2 separate regions of the Homo sapiens genome follow, and region 2 is linked to region 1. Evidence: promoter capture Hi-C in 16 types of primary human blood cells and fetal thymus (Javierre and others, 2016). All regions are on one chromosome and are shown on one strand. The core of a region is centred on a gene start or on the middle of the fragment in contact, and the rest is flanking DNA. Distances in the headings are between cores, read along the strand shown. Region 1 holds the start of ZNF229 (zinc finger protein 229). Region 2 overlaps ZNF227 (zinc finger protein 227).

Evidence for each region. The method cuts DNA at HindIII sites, captures the fragments that hold promoters and counts their contacts. A CHiCAGO score of 5 or more calls a contact.
Region 2: a contact is called between a fragment that was not itself captured here and the fragment with the promoter of ZNF229 in region 1, in 4 of 17 cell types (erythroblasts, total B cells, fetal thymus and 1 more). The highest score is 6.9, in erythroblasts.

The regions. Positions count from the first base shown.
Region 1 is chr19:44,446,988-44,453,580 of GRCh38, reverse strand. ZNF229 (zinc finger protein 229) reads left to right here and starts at 5,109. Exons shown (of 6, transcript NM_014518.4): 1 at 5,109-5,272; 2 at 5,981-6,068. The HindIII fragment of the contact is 11,359 bases long and covers 1-6,593 here.
Region 2 is chr19:44,213,684-44,220,131 of GRCh38, reverse strand. ZNF227 (zinc finger protein 227) reads right to left here. Exons shown (of 6, transcript NM_182490.3): 3 at 2,280-2,341. The coding sequence starts at 2,339. Among named protein-coding and RNA genes, the nearest start is that of ZNF227, 4.4 kb to the right of the region's middle. The HindIII fragment of the contact is 758 bases long and covers 2,084-2,841 here.

The DNA of each region.
Region 1 (6,593 bases), core at 3,860-6,359:
GAGCCACACCTTGATATTCCTTGATATTCCTAAGCCAAGCACATCCAATGAATGCTCCACCCAACTGGCTCCCATGTCTCTACGTGGTTCTAGAGCAAAAGAATATTTATGCAACGCATATCTCCACTCTTTCTTAAAAGTCTTTTCACTTACACGGGTAATTCTTAAACCCTCAGGGACTCTTCTGTCTGTGACAGCTACTCTTCAACCATGCCCAGATTTCCGCGGGAATCAGTTCCAGGCACCCATAAATCTGCACCAAACTCACCACTTTCACTGAGTTACTCCCCAGTCTGTCTCATGTCCTCACCAGCCCTCAGCGTCTCTCCTGTCTGTCCCAGCTACTCTCCCAGCATTGCCAGATATCTATCGGGGTCTGCCTCTCTCCCGCAGCAATCACTTAGAAACTCAGTGACCTCCCTGTGCTCCTCCCCAATGTGTTCCATCTCTTCATACTCATCCCCCAGAGACTCTCTGGTTTCCCCCAGCTCCACTCCAACCAGCCCCAGGTTTCTACAACAGTCAAACCGACACACCGAGGCAACACTCAGAAATTCACAGTTCCTACTGCACTCCTCCCCTATGTGTCCCATGTCTTCACCCCCACCCCCTAGGGACAGTCCCACGTTTCCCAGTTACTCTTCAGACCTCCCCACCTTTCTCAGCTAGTTAGCCTCCCATACCAAAGAAACACCTGGAAACTCAGCGTCCTCACGGGGCTCCATCCCCATGTCTCCCAACTCTGTACTCCAGGCCCTTGGCTACTTGTGTGTGTGTCCCAGCTACTCTCCCATTATCCCAAGGTTTCTGCAACACACAGCCCCCCACACCTGGGGGTCACCGAGAATCTCACAAATGTCGGTGCCCTCCTTAATCATGTCTCCCATTTGCTCATCTGCAGCCCTCAGATGCTCTCCTGTGTCTCCCAGCTCCCCTCCAGCCATCTGCAGATTTCTCTTGGAGTCAGCCTCTCATGCTCAGGGCATCACCTAGCAACCCACAGACCTCCCTGTGCTCCTCACCTCTGTCTCCCATCTCTGCATCCCCATCCCTCAGAGACTCTCCAGCATCCCCCTGCTCCTCTCCAACAATCCCCAGATTTCTCCTGGGGCCAGCCCCTAACACACAGGACTCACCTGGAAACTCACAGACCTCACCGTGCTCCTCCTGCTCCTCTCTGACCTTTGTACCGCCATTCCTTAGGGTCTCTTTCCTGTCTCCCAGCTACTCTCCAACCATCCCCAGTTTTCTGCAAGAGTCAGCCCCCAGCACACAGGAGACCCCTGGAAATTCACAGAGCTCACCAGATTCTTCCCCAACGACCTCCATCTACACAGCAGTGGCTCCCACATACTCCCCTGGGGCCCCGCACCCATCTTCTTTTACACTCAGAGCCTCGCAGGGTCTCACAGTCACTCCCCGTTATCATCATTCAGCTCGAAGTCCTTGCCATCCTCCTAGCCAACGTGATGCAGTTACCTGGCCATTTATCCACATTCCTGCTGAGGACTCCACACTCAGCCACAGAAGAGCCCTTCCCGCATTCCGGCCTCACACAAAGACCTGTCCTTTTACTTGCTACTGTCACACATTTGCTGGCAGGAGAGGCCCCTCTGATGGCCGACATCACCACCTGGGCTATCATCACCCCTCAGCTGTGCAGTGGGACCCTCCTGCCTGCTGACGTGGCTGCTGGCGCCCGTGCCAGCGTGAACCCCAAACCTGTCCGTGTTTCTGCGGGCGACGCCACCGGGGACATCCCTAGCTTGACCCCCTTTCCTGGCAGTGACACTGTCGGTATGATCCCGCGTTCTCAGATCTCTGATGTATACGTATGACTGTTTTCCCTGCGCTCGGTTTCTTCCATTCACAGGCCTTCTCATTGTCTCTCTTTCGGCCTCCATTTCAGACATTTCCTCATTCTCTTTCCCTGTGTCTGCCCCTGTCTCCACGTGGATGCCCTGGATAAGATTCACCCGTTTAAGGTGATGGATTTCTACTTCTTTGAATAATGCTGCTATGAACACTCCTGTACAATATTTAGTTTGGACAAATGTTTTCTCTTGGTTCATACCTAGGTGTGGAATTGCTGCATCATTTGGAGACTTCTATGATGTTTAACATGTTGAGGATCTTCCAGATTATTTTCCAATATGGCTGTAGATTTTGAAATTCCTACCAGCAGTGCCGGAATGTTACAGCTTCTTTACATGATCGTCAGCATTTTTTATTTTCTGTTTTTTTTTTGTGTGTGTGTGTGATTTAGTTTCACTCTTGTTGCCCAAGCTGGAGTGCGGTGGTGCGATCTCGGCTCACTGCAACCTCTGCCTCCCGAATAGCTGGGATTACGGATGCATGCTACCACACCCAGCTAATTTTTTGTATTTTTAGTAGAAAAGGGGCTTTACCATGTTAGCTAGACTGGTCTCGAACTCCAGACCTCAGGTGATCCGCCCACCTCAGCCTCCCAAAGTTCTGGGATGCAGGCGTGAGCCACTGTGCCCAGCCTATTTTCTGCTTTTCAATCCTGACCATTCTAGTGAGTGTGAAGTAGCACCATTGTTTTGACTTCCATTTCCCTAATGACTGAGGATGTGGAGAGTCATTTCATGTGTCTCTTGCCTATTTGTTTATTTTCGTTTAAGATATGTCTACGGAAATACCTTGCCTACTTAAAATTGGGTTATTTTTTCTTAACAATAACAAAACTGTTAGGGAGTCGGAAATTACAGCAGTTTCAAATTCAGTTGACACACGGTTTCTACAGTGTTTTGCAGTTTGTATGAGGTAGGATGAAGGCTGAATATTTACCTTGGGCCTTGGAATGGATTCATCTACCCACACTTTGTGCAGGTTGGCTCTTAGCTTCCAGGTCAAGACACCTTTTTAAAATAATTATTTTTATGTTTATTTTATTATTATTATTTTTTGAGATGGAGTCTTGCGCTGTCGCCCAGGCTAGAGTGCAGTGGTTTGATCTCGGCTCACTGCAAGCTCCTTCTCCCGGGTTCATACTATTCTCCTGCCTCAGCCTCCTGACTAGCTGTGACTACAGGCACCCCCCACCATGCCCGGCTAATTTTTTTTGTTTTCTTTTTTGTATTTTTAGTAGAGATGGGGTTTCACCGTGTTAGCCAGGATGGTCTCGATCTCCTGACCTCGTGATCTGCCTGCCTCGGCCTCCCAAAGTGCTCTGATTACAGGCATGAGCCACCGTGCCCGGCCAAGACACTTGATTGAATTGCTTAAGTGCTTCCCATGTGCCAGAGCCATGAAAGGTAAATAAAGAAAATAAAGAAAAAGAAGAGTCAATTATTTTGATGACTTAGAGATCTGACCATGGAGGCCATGTGAAAGGTGGTAACCAGCAATTTAAACCATGTGTTGCTGGATCCCAGAGTAATATAATTTATTGATTTCTCGGGGAAATGAGAATGTTCTGAGAGTGGTATTTAACATCCACTACACTCGCATGAAATTCTCCCAATCACAGACTGATCTGTTCATTGAATTATGATATAGAGTTCAAAAACACTCGATAGAGGAAATTATATTCAAGTTGTGTCTTAAATATGGAGTAAGATTTTAATAGTACAGGAAAGGATGGACTTACAGAGGGAAGAACAATAGCAGCAAATTCAGACATTTGTAAAACTGGAGGACACAGGATGGGAAGTAGGACTGTGTCTACCCAAGCAAAGAGGGGTGGGTTTGGAACCAAATATCTGAAGGGCTTGGATGCTTTGGAGTCAATTGGCAATTTTTTAGAATTTATCAAAACAATTCGATAATCTGTTTATAAGAGAGAGTTCTAGAACTTCTAGGATGAAATTTTTGAAACACAACAAGGAGGGAGAGATAAGGAAATGAGTTATCACTGTAACTGAAACCTTTCATCATGGCACAGAAAAAGCAATCTCTATCTTCAGAACACACTTGTATCCCAGAAAATATTTCATTATATATATAGTAATGTAGTAAGTGATTAGGATGCCGTTTAAATCAGAAAGGAAAGAATTAATATTTATGTAAATTTTGTTAAGAAAAGTAGACAATCCTTTGGTGAAACAGGAAACTCCATCTTCCTTTCATATCATACACTTAAATGAATCACGCGGTGATTCAAAAGAAAAATGAAAGAGCCTGAAATGAATATAGATATGCACTTATTGGGAATCAGGCTAAGGAATGTCTTTTTGGTCATACTGGAGAAAAAAAAGAAGCCACAAATGAAAAGACTGATATACCTTGTCAGATGAAGTTTTTTGTTTTTTTTTTTTTCTAAACTACTTTATAAATGTTGAAACTGGGGGAGCAATTCATCACTTAGAAGCGATATCATTCATACACAGAGAGTGTATGACAATAAAAGATGACAATGAAATGCAATCGGTAATAAGCATATTTACTCTGTCAAATTGGGAAAATAAGACAGGATATTTAGTCCATCAAATTGGGAAAATATTAAAGAAAGTGATTGTGTGTAGTTTTGATATCATAAAATTAGAAGTGTAAGTTCAATGCAGGACAAAGGGGTAACTTCCCTAAAAACTAAAGAATGCTAGGCAAGTATTGCAAATAATTTGTGTTTTTTTATTATCTCTATGTATCTCTACGTCTTTTGTGACATACAGAACTATCCACGATATATGACCTGTGGCAAGAAATGATTACAAAATATTATGATGCCATTTGGGAAATGGGATTCTTAAGAATTCATATTTACTCACATAAACCAGGGATTAAGTAAGAATTTTTTTTAAACCATTCTTTACATGTAATATGAACTACTTTTGAAATAAATATTTAGTTGGCTTTTACACCAGAAAATCAATAATGCTTTATATCCCTGGTGATGGGATGATGGGCTTGTTTGAGAATATAGTCAGGTTTGCTACAACGCGAATATGTTAGTACTGAGTAAAGACATTCTTTTCAACTCAGAAACACCTTGCATGCCGCCTCCCGCCGCCTCGCAGTGGGCGTGACTCGAGGTGGACGCGCATTTACGACACCATCGCCCCTAGGATCGGACTGCGCTGCGGAGGGTTCTGGGAAAGGTAGTCCCACACCTCGAGTCGACTACTTCCGTTTCCGGTGGGCGCGTCACCTTGATTGCTTCTTAGGCAGTGGTGAGGCGTCTTAGAGACGTGCATCTCCATGCGGTTGTACTGTCAGGCCATGGGAATTAGGATCGGCTCTATAGGACCAGTGTGAAGGGACAACGTGCGGCGGAGGGTCGAAGCCCACGGATTTCCATGAGCTCGGCCTGGTGAGGCAGGGGTGTAAGGAGGCGCACGTATCGAACATTCTGAGCGCCTGTGCGGGGTGGGCCCGGGTCGGCAGCCCTCGCAGTCCAGGCTTGGAAAAGCAGTTTGAGGCCAGCTCTGGCTTTGAGATGAGATCTGCAGTGCGGGAGACTCCACTGTGTCAGTTGCGGATCGATGACATGAATTTTCTCAGGGTAGCCGCCCACCCACTTGTGGAGTAATTTCAGAGTTTTCTGCGAAGTCATTTCTGTAAACAGGAAGTTGATTCCCTGTGTTCTAATTTTATCCTTTGAAATGTATTAAGCGCTGTGCAAGTCCTAGGAGTTGGTTTGCTGTATCGTTGCTGGCTCTGCTTTTTGTAGCCGCCTAAGCACACACAGGCAGAATTTCACTTGTAAGTGTCCCACAGCATGTGACAGTCAGCTCTGGATTAAAATCTTGAGATTTTGTCTTGATTCTCCTTGTCTCCTGAAAGGGGCAGTGAAAGTAGGCTTGTAGACGGTTTCTTTGGGCATCAGGAATGGCGTGTCCCTTGTACTCTGAGTCCTGTAGGAAGAGAGGTTCTTTTCCTCGGCTCCTGAAGCAAGTAGCGAGGGTAGATTACAGGAAGGGGTAGATTACATCCAGCTGGCACTGAGAGATTTCCCCCTGTGGCGTGGTGGGAATTGGGATTAAATCATGTTATCCTGCTGTTCATTTTTCTTTCACAGGCTTCCTTCTTGGAATTGTTCGTTTCTCGGAGATAATTGTATAAAAGAAGGAGAAATAACCCCACATCTCTTGACACTAGAGCTCCAGGTGAGTGAACTTTGGTTCTCTTTTGTGGCAATGCCAGGTCTCTTGGTGACCTCATTCTTCATCCCATTGATATCACAAATGTTCATTCAGACCCCTTAGCCACACCTGCCTTCCCCTAGAAATGGGGGAGGTTTGAGGAATTTCCCAGTGTCTTTATTTAGTGTATTCTCTTCTTGGCTCCTAGTAGTGTGTCACTGGGTCAGTAAAGGCTTACACTGTTTCAGCGCCATGCTGAAGAAACGCAGGGTAGAAATAATTAGAGTAACTGTGATGGTGTATATTAACTGAGTGCTTACTATATGCCAGGTATTATTTATCCATGGTGTCTAGGACAGTGCCAGGCTTGCCAATAAATATTTGAATAAATGAATGTATTTCTATTGAATTTTCTGAGCAAGTTTGTATGTTAGCTATTATCCCCATGTCACAGATGAGTTGCTAAGGTTTAAAAAGTTAAAAAAACTTAACAGGTAAGACCTGGCCAGGAGACCTTCTAAACAGAAACCAGGTCTTTGCGCTTATGCT
Region 2 (6,448 bases), core at 1,213-3,712, 230 kb after region 1:
ATGCAGCCATAAAAAAGGATGAGTTCATGTCCTTTGTAGGGACATGGATGAAACTGGAAACCATCATTCTCAGCAAACTATCGCAAGGACAAAAAACCAAACGCTGCATGTTCTCACTCATAGGTGGGAATTGAACAATGAGAACACATGGACACAGGAAGGGGAACATCACACTCCAGGGACTGTTGTGGGGTGGGGGGAGTGGGGAGGGATAGCATTAGGAGATATACCTAATGCTAAATGACGAGTTAATGGGTGCAGCACACCAACATGGCACATGTATACATATGTAACAAACCTGCACATTGTGCACATGTACCCTAAAACTTAAAGTATAATAATAATAAATAAATAAATAAATAAATAAATAAAAGAAAATCAACATCCAAAAAAAAAAGTTTTGAAAGCGTAATGGCAGATTTTCCTCTCCAAAGATTTTCCCAGTTCACTCTTCATGCAACAGTACAAGCATTCCTGAATCTCTAGACCCCGGCTAAATAGGACTCAGTTCCTTTTTCTAAAAAAGTCATTGACAATATAAGTAAAACCAATATATAAATAGAAAGCTATTTTATTAACATTTTCACACATTTAAATTATTAGTGAAGTTTTTTTCATAAATTTCTTTTCTTTATGACACTCCTATTCATTTCTTTTGCTCATATTCCAGTTGGAATTTTCTCTATATTACTAATCTTAACAGGAATTTAAGCTATTAGACCTTTACCTAATGTTTAAGTATATGCCACCGGTTTGCTGCTGTCTCTTACCATCATACCTGATAGCTTTTGCTGTAGGGAAATTTAAAACACTTACATAAAAACTGTGCTTGAGCATCTACGTTCATGGAATGACTAAGAGACAAAACTAGAGAAGAGACAGTAATTGAGATGGAAACTGGATGAGGGGCATTGTTGGGGTCTATCCTCCAAAAGGTAATATCAGGGCCAGGTGCACTGGTTCACGCCTATAATCCCAGCACTTTGGGAGGCCGAAGTGGGTGGATCATCTGAGGTCAGGAGTTGAAGACCAGCCTGGCCAACGTGGTGAAACCCCGTCTCTAATAAAAATACAAAATTAGCCAGGCGTGCTGGTACATGCCTGTAATCCCAGCTACTTGGGAGGCTGAGGCAGGAGAATCGCTTGAACCTGGGAGGCAGAGGTTGCAGTGAGCTAAGAACATGCCATTGCACTCCGGCCTGGGTGACAAGAATTAAACTCTGTCTCAAAAGAATAAAAAGGTAACATCAGGTACTTCTATCATATGTGCTCATCTCTGTGAATGGAAAACTCTTTTGTTCTGTCTGCCTTTACATGAAAATAGAATGCCAGATATTCCTAATAGTTGGAAGCTTCAGTGTCCAATGAGTCAGCTACCTGGGAAATTTGGGGCAGTTATAAAATGTTCCCATAACCTGTTTCTTCATATTTAAAATGCAAATAAATCATCTCCATCCTCACATCTGAAAAATGCAATGACAGATGGAAAGGGCTAGCAAGACATCTAAGTACTACTAGACCTTACGTACATGTAGTTACTTTGATGAAATAAATTCATACAAGAAATAAATGAGTGATAAAAACATAAACGGGAAAAATATATAGCTCTTCTTCTCTGAAAGCATCTAATAAAATTACACCATGTCATTCTTTAGATGTTCTGTTTACAAAACACCTGAGGGAACTGACATGAAACTGAGACATAAACCTCTTCAATGCAGAGTTCCTAAAACTTTAAGGACAAATAATATTGAATTCCACCAGAATTTCTTTTGAAGGAATTGTTTTTATATGTAGGGAAAAAAGTCACTGGATTTACTTTAAAGTAGTAAAATTCTTAAAATTTCTGAATTTCTGAAAGGCTAAATAAGAAATAGTTTTTGTTGTCTTTTAAGGGCACTGCAATTCAATGGCATATGATGTACTCACTTACAATGCAGGTGATGCAATTAAGTGGAGAATGCACAATTGAAAATTTCATCTACTCAAGTATTGCAAAATGTGTATGAAAAAGGAACATGGGAAAATGAAAAAAGCTAGTTCATAAGCAGGGTAGTAGCATAGATTATTTCTGATTAAAGCTTCTATTATTTTTTCAAACACTGTTTTGTAAAATAGTAAAGGTGATAAACTAAAACAAAAAAACACATACATGTCAGCATACCACATGTCCTGAATATCTGTTTCCCACTAACCTTTCCAAGAAAGAGAAAAAATAAATCTGTTATCTTTGAGAAATAAATCACATTTTAAAAGACAGCAAGGAATCCTTTACGTACCTGAAACTTGGTCATTTTCTCCTGCTTCTTCTGGGGAAGGTCATAGTTCTGAGATGGCATAACTGGGGGAGACCAAAGACGCCATGAGACACAAGCCTGCTGTTAGCCCATGTGTACATATGAGGAAATTAGAGAAATAGCCCTACATTCAGACAGGTATAGCCACATACAGCTTGGTAAGCAGAACATGGACTGTATTCCAGCTACTAAATGGCATGATAGTTCAGTGCCATTGGGCAGTGAACAGTCTGCACAAGTGCAGCATCCTTGCTACAAGGATTTCTGATGGCAGAGACAGCAGGAAACGAGAGGCAATGTAACAACATATGAGGGCTCTCAAGTCAAGTATCTGGGTTTAATTCCTAGAAATGATACTTACCAGCTGTGTAACCTTGGGGATATTAAAAACCCTCTCTGTGCCTCACTTCTGTTATGTGTACAATGAGGATATGGTAAGAATCATAAATCGTACCTCCCTCATAGGGTTTTTCCAAGGATTAAATAAGTAGATGGAGAGTTCTAAGAACCAGGAGTCCCTTTCTCTTATAGTTACAAAAAAGCTTCTTCATGGCTTCTTGCTGTTTAGCCAGGCCTGGCACAGTGGCTCATGCTTGTAATCCCAGCACTTTAGGAGGCCAAGGAGGGAGGATCACATAAGGTCAGAAGTTTGAGACCAGCCTGGCCAACACGGCAAAACCTCATCTCTACCAAAAATAAAAAAAATCAGCCAGGCGTGGTGGTGCGGGTCTGTAATCCCAGCTACTTGGGAGGCTGAGGCATGAGAATTGCTAGAACCTGGAAGGTGGAGGTTATAGTGAGCCAAGATCACGCCAATGAACTCCAACCTGGATGACACAGTGAGACTCTGTCTCAAAAAAAAAAAAAAAAAAAAAACAAGCAGATGATACTTTGCATCACACACTTGCCTTGCAAATATTGCTCTCCTATGAAAGTCACCTTTAATTTCTGAAAAGCCGAAATCTGACTTAAGGTTTCTTTTTAGTAATTTGTTGCCCAGCTAGTAATATTTTACTGACACTGTTATCAGTTTTCTAAAACGTATCATTCTGGGTCAATTTACTTCATGAAGCCTGGAAACGATCATTGGTACATCTCTTTTATTTTATGTGCACAGAGAAAAACACACAGCAAAGAGAAAGATAAAGCACAAACGAAAAATCAAGAAACATGAAAGATAAATTGAGAGGCTTCCGTATTTGTCTAACAGGAATGGGAGAAGAGAAGGCAGGATGGAGGGAATGACTGAGAGGTTTTAATTTCAAGATGCAATTGCTGAGAATTTCACACAATTGGTAAAAGATACAAGTTCGCATATAGAAATTCTAAACAGTATAAATAAAAATAAACATACCCTAAACAAATCACAATAAAACTCAGAAATGCAAAAGACTAAACGAACATAAAGAACTGGAAACAACAACCTTAAAGCTCCTAGAAAGAAAATATAGTTGACCTAAAAGAAATAACAATTAGATTGACAGAAATAGGGTAACAGAATGGAGATTTAAAACAAATGAATATTACCTCCAAAATAAAGAAACTGTCAACCTGAATTCTATGTTCAACTAGATGATTATTTACATGAGAAAGAAACAATATTTTAGCTGAAAAAAAAAATGAAGAGAATTTATAACCATGTGAACCCTAAAAGATGGACTGCAAAAAGCAATGGTAAGAAAACATTTGTGACTATATTGGTAATATAATAATCTTTGTTTAAAAAAAGCCAAAGAACTATAATGACAAATTTTGAGGGTGGTTATAATAAAAAGTAGACCTATAAAAACATAGCTTTTTTTTTTTTTTTTTTAAAGGTACATCTTTTTTTTTTTTTTTTTTTTTAGAGAGAGAGTTTCGCTCTTGTCACCCAGGCTGGAGTGCAATGGCACAATCTCAGCTCACTGCAACCTCTGCCTCCCAGGTTCAAGCGATTCTCCCACCTCAGCCTCCTGAGTAGCTGGGATTACAGGTACGCACCACCACGTCTGGCTAATTTTTGTGTTTTTAGTACAGACGGGGTTTCATCATGCTGGCCAGGCTGGTCTCAAACTCCTGACTTCAGGTGATCCACCCGCCTAGGCCTCCCCAAGTGCTGGGATTACAGGCATGAGCCACCGCACCTGGCCCCATCTTCTTTCAGATTTTTTTTAGTCTCAATATTCTTCAGAATAAGAACACATGCTGATTAAGTTTAGTATTTGCTAAGAAAGAGAATATTTTTAAAGTTAGAAGAATGACACAAAACCATATAAACTCCAGACCAGTTGAGCACAAATAAAAGGGAATAAACTGAACAAAAAAAGACAAGAAAGGAGAACAAAATATACACACAGATAGTAAAAGCAAATTATCCCAGACTGCACTAAAAAAAAAAAAATTATACATATATATTCTAAAAGACACTACGAAAACATAATGACAAAAAAGTTTGAAAGAAAAAGAACAAAAAAAAGATATACTGTACTGAGCAAATGGCAAATTACAGCTTCAGTTTCAGAGGTCATGGTAGAAAATAAAAAAAAAACTGACCTCAGCTACTCGGGAGGCTGAGGCAGGAGAATCGCTTGAACCCGGGAGGCAGAGGCTGCAGTGAACCGAGATGGCGCCACTGCACTCCGGTCTGGGCGACAGGCGAGACTCCGTTTCAAAAAAAAAAAAAAAACTGACCTGATGTCTGGCGTATGCTTTAAGACAACCATCTGCAGCCTTTTTGGCACCAGGGACCAGTTTCACGGAAGATAATTTTTCCACGGATGGGGGCGGGGGAGATGGTTTGGGGATGATAGGTTCCACCTCAAATCATGAGGCATTAGTTACATTCTCATAAGGAGCGCACAACCTAGATCCTTCACATGTGCAGTCCCTCCTATGAGAATCTAATGCCCCTGCTGATCTGGCAGGAGGCAGAGCTCAGGCGGTACCCCTCCAATCACCTCCTTCTGTGCTGTCAGGTTCCTAACAGGCCACAGACTAGTACCAGGTCCGCTGCCCAGAAGTTGGGACTCCTGCTTTAAGACACTCTAATTTAAAAAAAAAAAAAAAAGTGGGGTGGAAGGAGGAGGAGATGGTCTGCAGCAAATGTTGAACCTGAGTGTTGGTTACGTGGAATTCACTGCACCACTCTTTTGACAGTTGAATATGCTTGAAATTTTTCGGCTGGGCGCAGTGGCTCACGCCGGTAATCCCAGCACTTTGGGAGGCCGAGGTGGGCGGATTACCTGAGGTCAAGAGTTCAAGATTAGCCTGGGTAACACGGTGAAACCCCGTCTCTACTAAAAATACAAAAATTAGCTGGGAGTGATGGCGCACACCTGTAACCCAGTTACTCGGGAGCTTGATGCAGGAGAATCACTTGAACCTGGGAGGTGGAGGTTGCAGTGAGCTGAGATCACGCCACTGCACTCCAGCCTGGGCAACAAGAGTGAATCTCCATCTCACAAAAAAAAAGAAAAAAAAAGAAAAAAGAAAATTTTCATAATAAGAAAAAAACTACTACACAGAATACCAAACCTATTTTGAGAAACATCCATAGCATATACTAAAGGGAAACACATTAAAGTGTTAGCAGTTTTATTATAAGTAATTTAAGTTTTCTGAATATAACATCACTGTCCAATAGAAATATACTGAGACACATAAATAATTTTAAATTTTCTAGCAGTAACATATAAAAAAGGCAAAAAAACAAAAACAAAAATAGGTGAAGTTAATTTCAACAACATAATTTAAGCCAATGTATCCAAAATATTACCATTTTGACATATAATACAAAAAATTATCAATGAGCCATCTTACATTTTTTGTACAAAGTTTTTGAAATCCAGTGTGTATTTAACACTTACAGCACATCTCAATTTGGACTAGACACATTTCAAGTGCTCCTAGGGCACACATGGCTTATAGCTACTGGATTGGATAGTGCATCTCTATAATGAGCATTCATTACTTCTATAACTAGAATATGACATATTTTGACATGGAATGAAATTAAGTAAGTGAGATGTTGCAGGATTTTTCTAAAAAATTCAAAATTCATCAGTGCAGTTTTTGAGGTCTTCCACAGTAAAATCCATACCTACATTCCCAAGGCTGATTTCCAACGACTCACCGGTAGCCATATGGATTACTATTTAAGATAACTGAAGACG